Regions from separate parts of the Homo sapiens genome. Here regions 1, 2 and 4 are each linked to region 3. The links are contacts of gene promoters, found by promoter capture Hi-C in blood cells and fetal thymus (Javierre and others, 2016). All regions are on one chromosome and are shown on one strand. The core of a region is centred on a gene start or on the middle of the fragment in contact, and the rest is flanking DNA. Distances in the headings are between cores, read along the strand shown. Region 1 overlaps LINC01116 (long intergenic non-protein coding RNA 1116). Region 2 has its middle 190 kb from the start of ATP5MC3. Region 3 holds the start of LNPK (lunapark, ER junction formation factor). Region 4 has its middle 210 kb from the start of ATP5MC3.

Evidence for each region. The method cuts DNA at HindIII sites, captures the fragments that hold promoters and counts their contacts. A CHiCAGO score of 5 or more calls a contact.
Region 1: a contact is called between a fragment that was not itself captured here and the fragment with the promoter of LNPK in region 3, in 1 of 17 cell types (fetal thymus). The highest score is 5.1, in fetal thymus.
Region 2: a contact is called between a fragment that was not itself captured here and the fragment with the promoter of LNPK in region 3, in 3 of 17 cell types (M1 macrophages, megakaryocytes and monocytes). The highest score is 9.3, in M1 macrophages.
Region 4: a fragment that was not itself captured here is called in contact with the fragment with the promoter of LNPK in region 3 in 1 of 17 cell types (monocytes); the score reaches 5.4 in monocytes.

Annotation. Positions count from the first base shown.
Region 1 is chr2:176,634,343-176,637,296 of GRCh38, reverse strand. The region is part of intron 1 of LINC01116 (long intergenic non-protein coding RNA 1116); the gene reads left to right. Among named protein-coding and RNA genes, the nearest start is that of LINC01116, 1.8 kb to the left of the region's middle. The HindIII fragment of the contact is 1,930 bases long and covers 583-2,512 here.
Region 2 is chr2:175,366,823-175,369,879 of GRCh38, reverse strand. No RefSeq gene overlaps it. Among named protein-coding and RNA genes, the nearest start is that of ATP5MC3, 190 kb to the right of the region's middle. The HindIII fragment of the contact is 177 bases long and covers 1,621-1,797 here.
Region 3 is chr2:176,000,887-176,003,813 of GRCh38, reverse strand. LNPK (lunapark, ER junction formation factor) reads left to right here and starts at 1,547. Exons shown (of 13, transcript NM_030650.3): 1 at 1,547-1,654. RefSeq lists an enhancer at 1,134-1,353. The HindIII fragment of the contact is 1,642 bases long and covers 933-2,574 here.
Region 4 is chr2:175,385,565-175,388,668 of GRCh38, reverse strand. No RefSeq gene overlaps it. Among named protein-coding and RNA genes, the nearest start is that of ATP5MC3, 210 kb to the right of the region's middle. The HindIII fragment of the contact is 4,362 bases long and covers 1-3,104 here.

The DNA.
Region 1 (2,954 bases), core at 298-2,797, 630 kb before region 3:
AATGCGTTAAGTGAAATGGGAAATAAATGGACAGTGGCACATTTCGTGGCATCATTTTTACAAGGGGATGTCGAAAGTTTTAAGCTGCATTTAAGAATTAGCCACATCTTGCCTGAAAGTTAATATTTTTTGATAAACTCGTTAATAAAGCCTAGAAGAGGTAAGTTAAAGTTAGTTACCACGTAGATCCTCCAGTCTCTTGTAGAGACTTGCGCAGGTTACTAGGATGAGGACGAGTTGTATTTTTAATTTTCTAGACTAAGTGCAAAGGCATTGAGTTTTGAGGTGGCAGGGTTAATGTTCAAGGGCAAATGGAACCGCCAAGGATCTCTTGAAAAGAATTCACTTACTATTAATACTTAAGCCTGAAATAATTATAATTAATTTACAGTGGGAATTATATGCCCATGTTTTAGACTTTTTTGTTATATTAGCTATATGAAAAGGGATGTTCTTTAGTGATTAAAAGAAAAAACCACCTGTTTATTGTCATTTGCAATTTGAAATAGCCGACAGCAGTAAGGCTAGCTACAAAAGCTAACAAGTCAACTTCAGTGTGGTTTGACATTTACTGTCAAAGCTTTGAGCTCTAAGAAAAACAGAATTTAAAATAATGTATATAAATAATAAAATTTCATTGTGACTCAATGTCCCTGCCCCTGGAGAAGGGACAGATGACACTCAGTGACTGGCTTGGAACCATTCCCCCTGCAGATGCATTTGCGGATACAGTGGGCCAGGGCTGCCTCTGAGTATGTACAGCAAGTGCTTATGGACTTACAGAAACAAATGTTTTACTATTTAGGATTTTCTCAATAGTTTACACTAAAAGTTTTGCATGTAGAAATGTGGGATAAATATTTCTTTGAAAGGAAAAGTTTCGAAAGGAAACTTTATACTTGTATTTTTTTGTGTGTTCACATTTCTAAGTTCATCTGTCTTTCAAAAAACAGATTTTCATAAATATTAAAATATTGCAAGTATTATTTTTAATTCTTTTGAGTGCCATGTTTGCTGTAAGTAGTTTTTTCTTTTAAGTAAGATTAATATAATCCTGTCTAAGGAGTTTAATAGAGAGAACAGGATTTCCAAGCCTATAAATGCAGTCTATATAAAATAGTGGGATCAAAGTTTTTTGTTAAGAAACTTGAGAATTTATACATTTTAAATGAAGATAGAAGCACGTTTTAAAAGTAGTTTTTCCACACCATTTCCCTCCCCCCAAAAGAATTCAGAAACTATATTCCATAGTCTAAAAATGGCATAATCAGATGTAAAAATTATTACCATAATATATAGTTTTCTCAAGATGGTGGATACTTTTTAATATATTATGAAGAGTTATATTCTCAGCCCACTGTGTGTTTGAGGGAATGGAAAAGACAAGATGTTTCTAAACATATTTTACTACTGAAATCCATAAGACTATTAAGCTGTGCAGGTAATTGTGTTCTAAGTGGTAGAAGTATTTTTCCAACTGCTTTTTAAACTTTGAAAAATTTATATGTATTTTAATTAGCACTTTTCTTTTAAAGGTTCCAAATATTTAGCTATATCAGCTATGTGATAAAAATTATTGGAATTTGTTCCCTACTACTTTCTGCATAAACAATTGAGAAATATTTTATACTAATCTTTTTATATACAGGGGATAAATTTGAACATGTGTCTTGTTGGTGTAATAAACAATCCAAATTCATTTCTTTCTTGAAAACTTGGCATCGATCTTCATCTTATTTTTTATGCACACAATTTGGACATGCCAGTTTGTAGGCAAGTTTTAAGACAGTGCAAGTTTTATGTGGAAGAATGTATATTAAGGAATGAATAGCTAATAGCCAAAATTAAATCAGGAGGTGTGGCATTCACTCCTTTGGATGATTATTTTAAAGATAGTTTTGCACTCAGGAAGGATTTTCTTATGCTCTGTATTTATGAATATCTAAATTATCCTGCCTTGCAACTTCAAAACTCAATAACCAAATACCAAATTTATGTATTTTCAGTGTGACTAAGGCTAGGAATATGAGAAGCAGATTGGTTTTATAAAAGAAAGCAAGCATTTACAATTGTATTTTAAAATATAATCCTAATTTCAGTTTCTGACAGAAATCTTGTGGTCAGCTCATCAGTTTTTCAGATCAGTTTCTAAATAGCATATAAAAACTACCTTTTCCACATCAGAAGTTCATATTTAGGTTTCCTTAACTGCAAAATCACTTTAAAAGAGAGTGTTTTATGTGAAGGGCCATTTCATGTGTTGGTTCCATCGATTACATATGAATGTATAAAAATCTTGTTTAAAGACCAGTAAAAGTGAGGAAATTCCAAGTCAGGCTGGCTAATTCCATTCATAATTCATCCCGAGTACCTGACTGAGGAAACTTGCAAACAGTTTATAGCTATACATACAAAATAAGTTGACGTGCTTTGTAAGCTGGAAGCAGAGTTAAGTTTGACCTCCCTGCTTGGAAGGTCTTAAATTAATAAAATTATGGAATATGGTTAAGCTTTTCAGTTTCCCAAGAATTTTCCAATATCGATGCTTTTTGGATTTTTGCATTTTGAAAATGTAAGCATGGAAGGACAACTTCTTTTGTGCTGAGATGAAGTTAGCTTTTACCCATCCATTTCCTTCCCACTTAACACATTTGTTCAGTAATTCTTCGAGTGCTGGGGGACAGAGGCCCTGCCTTGAGAAAAGCATATGCCATTTCTCTGCCCCCTTCAACCATCCCCACCCCCAGCCCTCCCTTTATTTCAAGCCAGTTGGACAAGTATTTAGCATTGACACATGTTTCAAACTGCTGCATCCACAGCCCTAGGTAGTTTTGGGGATTGGCAGGAAATCCATCTAGACTTTGCCTTCTGAGCTGGGTAAAACTACTAGGAAGTCCTATGCCTTGATATTGTGGCACTTCTAGGCTGTCTTTCCAATTTTAAGCAATCCATCA
Region 2 (3,057 bases), core at 460-2,959, 630 kb after region 3:
TATCTTTCTACTTTGCATAAAATGATAGATAAATCAAAGACATAGTACTTTTTTCTTTTTTTCTTTTAACATCATTTCCCACTCCCAAACTCAAACTAAGCCCTATACTGAATTTTTTACAAGCATCTGTGGTATTTACAATCAATGTTGTCATAAACAAATTAAATTACAAACTTCTAACTTAGCTTTATGTATGTATTTTTCCATGACAATGTTTACCAAAGAGTGGAAATAGGCAAGTGATGTGTCTATATTGTATCTGAAGCTAAAGAATTTGGGGACTGGTGTAGCTGAAGAGTCTTCTTTCAAACCTCTCTCACCCGTAGGTTCTGGGGCCACAGAATATGGCCCTTGGAACAGTGTTATAATTTTATTATTGATTCGTGTTCAACTTTATAACGTCAGATAATTTCCTGTTTCATGTGCATAGTGAATCATTTTCTAAATTTCATTTGAGATTTCTTTTCCCATGCACTTCACACACATTATATCCCTATTAAAGATTGTTCCAATTCTTACTAGCCATTTTTACAACTTGAAAGGTTATTAGATTTCAAATTCTGCTTGTCATTTCCTCCCACTGTCCTGGTGTCTTTCATCATCTAAGTGCCCAAGAATATCATAGATGTTACAGATGGATAGCTGGCATCTATTTGCCTAGCCAATACTGAGTTAGGAAAATCTTCTCCTTTGTTATCTATCCACCCAAGCAGCTTTCCTCTGCTTCTCAATGTAACTTGCCAGTACCAAGGGGTCTCCATGGTTCTGATTATCTTTGGATCATGCTGGCCCTTTAACTCAAAGTGCACTTCCCTCCACTCTCCACCTATAAAATCACAATTCATTATTAGTGGTAGGAATCAACTGTTATCCCTTCCTGGAAACCTTCTGTGATTCCTTAAGTCAGAATTAATCACTCTACCCTCATTTGTTTCCCTGTGTTAGCAACTTAATTTTGACTGAATCAAAAGCCTCGCTGATAGGAAGTTGTATATGAAATCAGAGTTTTGCTCACGTGCAGTTTCGTTGTATTTACTCAACTATTCCCTGGGAGTTTAGAATCTTCCACAGTATTCATCTCTGATACTTTAGTCTTGTTTTCATGTCTTGCAAGTATTGTTTTCTGACCTTCAGCCCTTTTGGTATTCATTTAGTCAAATTTGTTGCTCGGTAGCTTTTATCTGTCTCACATAAACCATGAAATAGAATTTCTTGTGTCCATCGTGGTATTTCCTTTTAAAATATGCACCTCTTCTGAACTCCTTTGTCCCATGGGATATGCCTAAATGTGACTTCAGCCTCACTTTGATCCACAAGATCCTTAAGAGCTGGTGGAGACCTCAGCTATAAGCTTAATACAATCTCTCATCTTATGGATAAGAAACTAATCTGGGGAAGACAGAAGGGACTAACTCCAAGTCATCCTGCTAGTTAGGGTGACATAGATGGATTACCATCAGTGTCCTGTTTCTAAACCTGAGAAGAGCAAATTAACTACACCTAAATGCGGAAAAATAAAATCAACCATAATGGTGCTGGTCATGTGGAGTTTACTGAATAAGCCTTTACACAGCCATGGGCTCTCTCCCAGTGGGGTCATCTTGACAATCCTCCTAAGCTTCCTGACTTTGATTTCTAAAAATTAATACATATTCTATATTTGCCTGGGTTTCTTTCTATCCTCTCACAACCCTGACCTCTAAATTTATCTCACCTTCACCAACGCAGTCTCCATCCTCTGTAGCTTCCCCTATCCTCCTTTCTCAGGCAGAACAAGCCAACACATCTTACAAAGCTTCCACAGTTTCTGTACATAACTTCTCATTCCATGAACAGCCTCCAACTCTTCACACATGGAATGCTCTTCTCTCCAGCATAGCTCATCACAATCCTAAACTTCACAACGCATCTCAAAAGCCAACTCATTTTTCTGACCACATTCAACCTCCTCTCTTAGAATTAGTTGTTTAATTGGCTTCCTTTCACAGTACCTTGTTTTTGCCTCAGTGCTAACTCTTAGCCCAATCTGTTTTCTATTAGAATTTCTTTTTTATTTATCATTTACTAGACTGCACTCTCTGAAGAGAGCTATTTTCCTTTAGGCACTGAGTGACTTCACGAAGCATGGCCTAAATAAATGTTTGTTGAATAAATAAATGAATGATGAGAAAGGCATTTTGAATATCTGTTGCCTATTCTACACAAATAGATCTACCTAAAACTCCAGAAATGTCCTGTTAGTCAAGGCTTTTAAAATGTAATTTTTTTCTAGAATGGATGGCATAAAGGAATTCCATGATGCATAAAAACAAAGAATGTTATGACATGCTTTATATATTGTGAATCAGTATTGGTATTTCTAAATGTGACCTAAACTTTATATTCAATTATGATCAATTGTAATTTCTCTTTTTGGAGGGTAATTGCTCTTACCTTCTTTATCTGAGATGGCAGGGGGAGACAGTTTCAATACCTACAGTCTCACAAAAAATAAATAACTTCATAAAAACTACCATGAAGCAGCTTCATGGTTGATATTTAGAGTTTCAGCCCATTCCCAAAAGATTCCAATGAGGACAGAAAAAAATCATTCATTCCTCTAGCTGTTTCATCCAAACAAAGACACATATTTAAATATCAGGAAATACCACTGTAGCTGCCTGGATATTCTTTTTTCTCTTTGGGGCACAGTCAGATCAGGCAGATCATGTCCACACCATTAGGTCAAGGGTGTTCTCACACCAAACCTAGATGTGTCTTTGCTTCTCCTCATCACTTGTAACTTGTGACGTCACCCTTTCACTCCTTGAATAAATCCAGTATCAGCCCCAGCCCATATAAATCTGTTCTGCCCCTTTGCTTCTGTCTTCATGTACAGCATACTGTAAATAATCATAATGGAGTGGTGTAAATAGTTCTGTGGTACACTGGAGACCCCTATTGGTGAGACTCAGACAGTGAATTCGAAGCCCGACATCCTAGCGAACAGAACTGGATCCGCGTCTGCTGGGCTCCTTGGGGTTCCAGTAGAGCAGAAAGCGATGCCTTTAGCAATTT
Region 3 (2,927 bases), core at 298-2,797:
TCCCCTTGCTACCCTTTTTTCAGAGGTGGGGTATCGCTTGGTAGCCCAGGCTGGAGTACAGACACTGATGGCTCAATTGAAACCAGAGGACACATTACTGGCAAGTGGAAAGCCGTTCTTCCCAGTCTTCTTAGGAAAGGAGATCTTTCTGCGGTGAGATATATTTGCAAAACTGCACAGGACTTTAATACTTTGCAACAGCAAAGGTTGAAAAACAAAACGGTTAAATTTCCACATCAAAACAGGTGAAATGTTTCTGTTCATTTTCTTCTACATTTGGAAAGTGCCTGATCCACAGTGACACGCTAAACTTCAGTTCCCTTCCCCTCATCCTTGCAAGTGTACAGAACTGTAACTAAATATTTAGGCAATTAGGGCAAGCAAATTGCACAGTGAATTATGCGGTAGCTTCTAGTATAATAAATTTTCTTACCAACCAAACAATGCTCAGTTGCTTCTCTTGACAACCTGTTTGCATCGTCAAAGTTTAAATGTAACATATTAAAACTATTACTCTTTAAAAAATCATTGAAACTTTTTTGTGTATAAATAAAAAAATAGAATAAAAATAAATAAAAAATAGAAAAAAACCCATGAAAAATGTTTGCACATGGGGTAAAGCATGTAAAAGGGGTAAAGCATGATAAAAACCTTCGCTGAAGTTTCCCTGCTCACACATTACTGTGTGCACGTCTAGTCTTTTTCTCATTCAGGCATCATTTGTTATTTGTCTTTTCCAGTTGAGGAGGACACTTAATACCGTTTCGGCAGCGTTTCAAATCCGAGTCAAATATAGCCTGAGTGGTTTTTTTGTGGGTCCACCTATCAGGGCCTGTGAAGAGTGTTCTTGGGGTTAAGAGTTCTAAGATAGAAAACTCAGCTTATGCTGTTACCCGCAGGTTTTAAAGCAACATGATACGGCGTTTGAAGCTTACCTCACACCGGTGAGGTAAGCGTCCAGTCATCAAATGACCCTTTTTGACGTCCAAGAGTGACAGAGCCTCAAGCACTCCTGGGGACCGGGCTGACTTTTCTCCACTGGCTTGGTTGGGAACTGGCTTCTTCGGAGCTGTGTAGTCTTAATTTGCTTTGCTGCTGGCTGGCTGACAGCTGATGGGGGACTCCTCAGGACGGACTCCCTTCCAGATGCACCCATCTCCATCCTTCTCAACTCCCCAACCTTTGTCCTCCCCACTCTTCGCTCGCGCGGCGGTCTGAGACCACCAGGACCAGTTTCAGGGGTTTCCTTCTCCAGCGAGACTTGGCAGAACAGGCTTTAAAAGCAAAGGAGGCAGCGGAAGAGTAAGAAATAACTATATTCTAAGAGTCATAATAAATGGCAGTACATAACTGCGACACGACACCGAGCAGCCTAAGCTGGCTGCGGAGGCCACAAACACAAGATCCTAACCTCCCGGCCGACCCGCCCCAACAACTACCCGCCCAGGGTACGGTCACGTGACGGGGGAGCGGCGCGCGCCGACCGCGGCGCCAATTGGCGAGCGGCTGGAGCGCGGGGTTTCATGGGAAGGAGTTGGCCCGGCTTGTCTCTCTGTCAGTGGCGGCTGCTGCCTGCTCTGGAGGCAGGCTGGGCGGTGGCGGCCGAGACTGGCGGGGGTGGACGCCCGGGCCGGGCTGCGCCCGCTTCTTGCAGGTAGAACGCTCAAGGCGAGGGCAGTTGGGAGGGCTCTGCAGCGGGGAGGCATGCTGAGCTGTGCCCCTGGGAAATAAGCTGCGGGTTCCCCGCTTGCCTCTCCTTGGTGCCCCCGCCTCCTGCCAAGTGGCCTAGAGCTCTGCGGCGGCTGCTAGTCAGGCTGCGCGGTGGTCCGCGCAGACCCAGGCTCGCCGCCTTGTTCCCTGGATTTCCCAGCACACTGGCAGTGGTGGCGCTGGAGTCTTGAAACCCTTGTTTCCCCTCTAGGGCTGGTAGTTTCTCCAGCTCGGTTCTAGGAGATTCCGGGTGGTGACTGGCTTGAGCCCCAGCTCTTTGGCCCACTTGTGTCGAGCTTATCTCGACACAGGTGGGGCAAAGAGGTCAGAAGGTCCCAAACTAGCATTTCCTACGCTCAGCTGTCCGCTTTGAGCGTTCTCTCCGCTTCTCTTTCTGAGTTGTGCGGAGGCTCCAAGAGTTAGAAAGACCAGAAGGGACTGAAAACTGTCAGTGTCATGCTGCCGGGCTCTAGCGTGTGGGCGTGGAGTACGTGCTACTTAGAGAAGAGACTCTCCAACCATTGTCCTTATTTCAGGGATGGTGGGCTGTGGGGTGGAGGGGAAGGGCGAAGGTGCATTGTATCAGAGGCGTGGTAGGAGGAGAAAAACAAATCTAAATTCCGTCAGTTCATAGTTTACGGATTGAGAAAGAGTTGAAATTGGTCAACTCAGCTTTGCTGATGGTGCTTTCACAGTACTAAGCAAGACCCGTGAATCACTGAGTTTTCCGTGTTCTGCTTTTCCCAGTTGGCCTCCGGTGTGTGTTGCTCGGTGTCTACTGTTTCCTCCTTTCTTTATGGCCTGGGTGTCAGCATTGACAAAATTGACTCTATTCAACAGCGGTTTGGTGGGTGTGAGTAAGCTTGGTTTCAGGAATATGTTCAAACTGGCAGGGAATGCTCATTTCTTTTCCTCAGCAGCCCCCAGAAGACCAAGTTGACTTTTAACACATTTTCTTAAACAGGAGTGGTGCGTTTAAATTAGAATTTTAAGGTTGTCTGTTATCTATTGAGATCAGCTCAGTAATGATGTTAGTAAACTTATATAGTGTTTATATGTTATATAAACAAGAAAATACAAGAAAAGGAGAAGTTATATGGCTATTAAAAATATATGACTTCACATAGAAACATTTATAATCAAATAGTAATTTTTTGGTGGTATTTAGTTCAGATGAAAATTGACTTACCATGAAAGCAAGCACTAATCATTATATA
Region 4 (3,104 bases), core at 595-3,094, 620 kb after region 3:
TAAGCATCGGCTGGGTTGAGAAATAAAGGGACAGAGTACAAAAGAGAGAAATTTTAAAGCTGGGCGTCTGAGGGAGACATCACATGTTAGTAGGTTCCGTGATGACCCCTGAGCCATAAAACCAGCAAGTTTTTATTAGTGATTTTCAAAAGGGGAGGGAGTGTATGAATAGGGTGTGGGTCACGGAGATCACGTGCTTCACAAGGTAATAGCATATCACAAGGCAAATGGAGGCAGGGCAAGATCACAGGACCACAGGACCAGAGCGAAATTAAAATTGCTAATGAAGTTTCGGGCACCACTGTCATTGATAACATCTTATCAGGAGACAGGGTTTGAGAGCAACCGGTCTGACCAAAATTTATTAGGTGGGAATTTCCTCGTCCTAATAAGCCTGGGAGCACTATGGGAGACTGGGGCTTATTTCATCCCTACAGTCTCGACCACAGGAGATGGCCACACCCAAGGGGGCCATTTTAGAGGCCCACCCTCAGGGGCGCATTCTCTTTCTCAGGGATGTTCCTTGCTAAGAAAAAGAATTCAGCGATATTTCTCCCATTTGCTTTTGAAAGAAGAGAAATATGGCTCTGTTCCACCCGGCTCACCAGCGGTCAGAGTTTAAAGTTATCTCTCTTGTTCCCTGAACATTGCTGTTATCCTGTTCTTTTTTCAAGATGCCCAGATTTCATATTGTTCAAACACACATGCTTTACAATTTGTGCAGTTAACGCAATCAACACAGGGTCCTTAGGTGACATACATCTTCCTCCGCTTATGAGATGACAGTATTAAGAGATTAAAGTAAAGACAGACATAGGAAATCACAAGGGTATTGATTGGGGAAGTGATAAGTGTCCATGAAATCTTCACAATTTGTGTTTAGAGATTGCAGTTAAAGACAGGCATAAGAAATCATAAAAGTATTAATTTGGGGAACTAATAAATGTCCATGAAATCTTCACAATCCACATTCTTCTGCCACAACTTCCGCTGGTCCCTCCGTTTGGGGTCCCTGACTTCCCGCAACAGTGAGACATTTCTACCATTGAAATGGGGTTAAGATAGCAAGGCAAGTCCAATAAAGGCCTTTCCTTCTTGCCAGGCACTCTGATTACACTCTGCACACTGTACCAGGTAATTGGATTATAGTAGCACAGGTAGCACTTTTATGCTTACATCATATTGAGGACTTCGGATACATCTGTGCTCTATGGGATCCTAACTTGGTGTATTAGTCTGTTCTCATGCTGCTATGAAGAAATATCTGAGACTGGGTTGTTTTTTTTTTTTTTTTTTGAAATGGAGTTTCACTCTTGTTGCCCAGGCTGGAGTGCAGTGGCACGATCTTGGCTCACTGTAAACTCCGCCTCAAATTTCAGTGATTCTCCTGCCTCAGCCTCCCGAGTAGCTGGGATTACAGGCACCTGCCACCATGCCCGGCTAATTTTTTATGTTTTTCGTAGAGATGGGATTTCACCATGTTGGCCAGGTTGGTCTTGAACTCCTGACCTCAGGTGATCCACCCACCTCGCCTCCCAAAGTGCTAGGATTACAGGCATGAGCCACTGCACCTGTCCTAGTAATTTATAAAGAAAAGAAGTTTAATTGACTCACAGATCTGCATTGCTGGGGAGGCCTCAGGAAATTTACAATCATGGCAGAAAGTACCTCTTCACATGGCAGCCGGAGACAAAATGAGTGCCAGCAGGGGAAATGCCAGACACTTATAAAACCATCAGATCTCGTGAGACTCACTCATTATCATGACAATAGCATGGGGGAAACTGCCCCCATGATTCAATTACCTCCACCTGGTGCTGCCCTTGAACCGCGGGGATAATGAGGATTACAATTCAAGGTGAGATTTGAGTGGGGACACAGAGCCAAAACATATCATTCCACCCCAGGACCCTACCAAATCTCATGTCCTCATATTTTAAAACACAGTCATGCCCTTCCAACAGTCCCCCAAAGTCTTATTCCAGCATAAACCCAAAAGTCCAAGTCCAAAGTCTCATCTGAGACTGGAAAGTCCCTTCCACCTACAAACCTGTAAAATCAAAAGCAAGTTTGTTACTTCCCAGATACAACAGAGTTACAAGCATTGGGGAAATACATCCATTCCAAATGAGAGAAACCAGCCAAAACAAACTACAGGCCCCATGCAAGTTTGAAATCCAGTAGGGCCATTATTAAACCTTAAAGTTCCAAAATGATCTCCCTTGACTCCATGTCTCACATCTAAGTCACACTGATGCAAGAGGTGGGCTCCCATGGCCTTGGGCAGCTCCACCCCTGTGGCTTTGCAGGGTACAGTCCTCCTCCCTGCTGTTTTCACAACTGGCATTGAGTGTCTGTGGCTTTTCCAGGTTCATGTTGCAAGCTGTCAGCGGATCTGCCATTCTGGAGTCTAGAGGATGGTGGCCCTCTTCTCACAGCTCCACTAGGCAGTGCCCCAGAAGGGACTCGGTGTGGGGGTCCAACCCCATATTTCCCTTCTGCACTGCCCTAGCAGAGGTTCTCCATGAGGGCTCCATCCCTGCAGCAGACTTCTGCCTGGACATCCAGGTATTTCCATACATCCTCTGAAATCTAGGCAGAGGTTCCCAAAGCTCAGTTCTTGACTTCTGTGCACCCACAGGGTCAACACCATGGGGAAACCCCTAGGCTTGGACTTGCACCCTCTGAACCTGTACCTTGGCCCTTTTTAGCCAAGGCTAGAGCTGAATCAGCTGGCATGTTGGGCACCATGTACCAAGGCTGCAAGTTGGATCAGGGATGGGGGTGGCCCGGGGCCAGGCCCATGAAACCATTTTTCCCTCCTAGGCCTCTGGGTCTCTGATGGGAGGGGCTGCCACAAAGGTCTCTGACATGCCCTGGAAACATTTTCCCCATTGTCTTGGTGATTAACATTCAGCTCCTCATTACTTATGCAAATTTCTGCAGCAGGCTTGAATTTCTCCCTAGAAAATGGGTTTTTCTCTTCTATCACATCATCAGGCTGCAAATATTCCAAACTTTTATGCTCTGCTTCCTCTTGAACACTATGCCACTTAGAAATTTCTTCTGCCAGACACCCAAATCATCTCTCTCAAGTTCAAAGT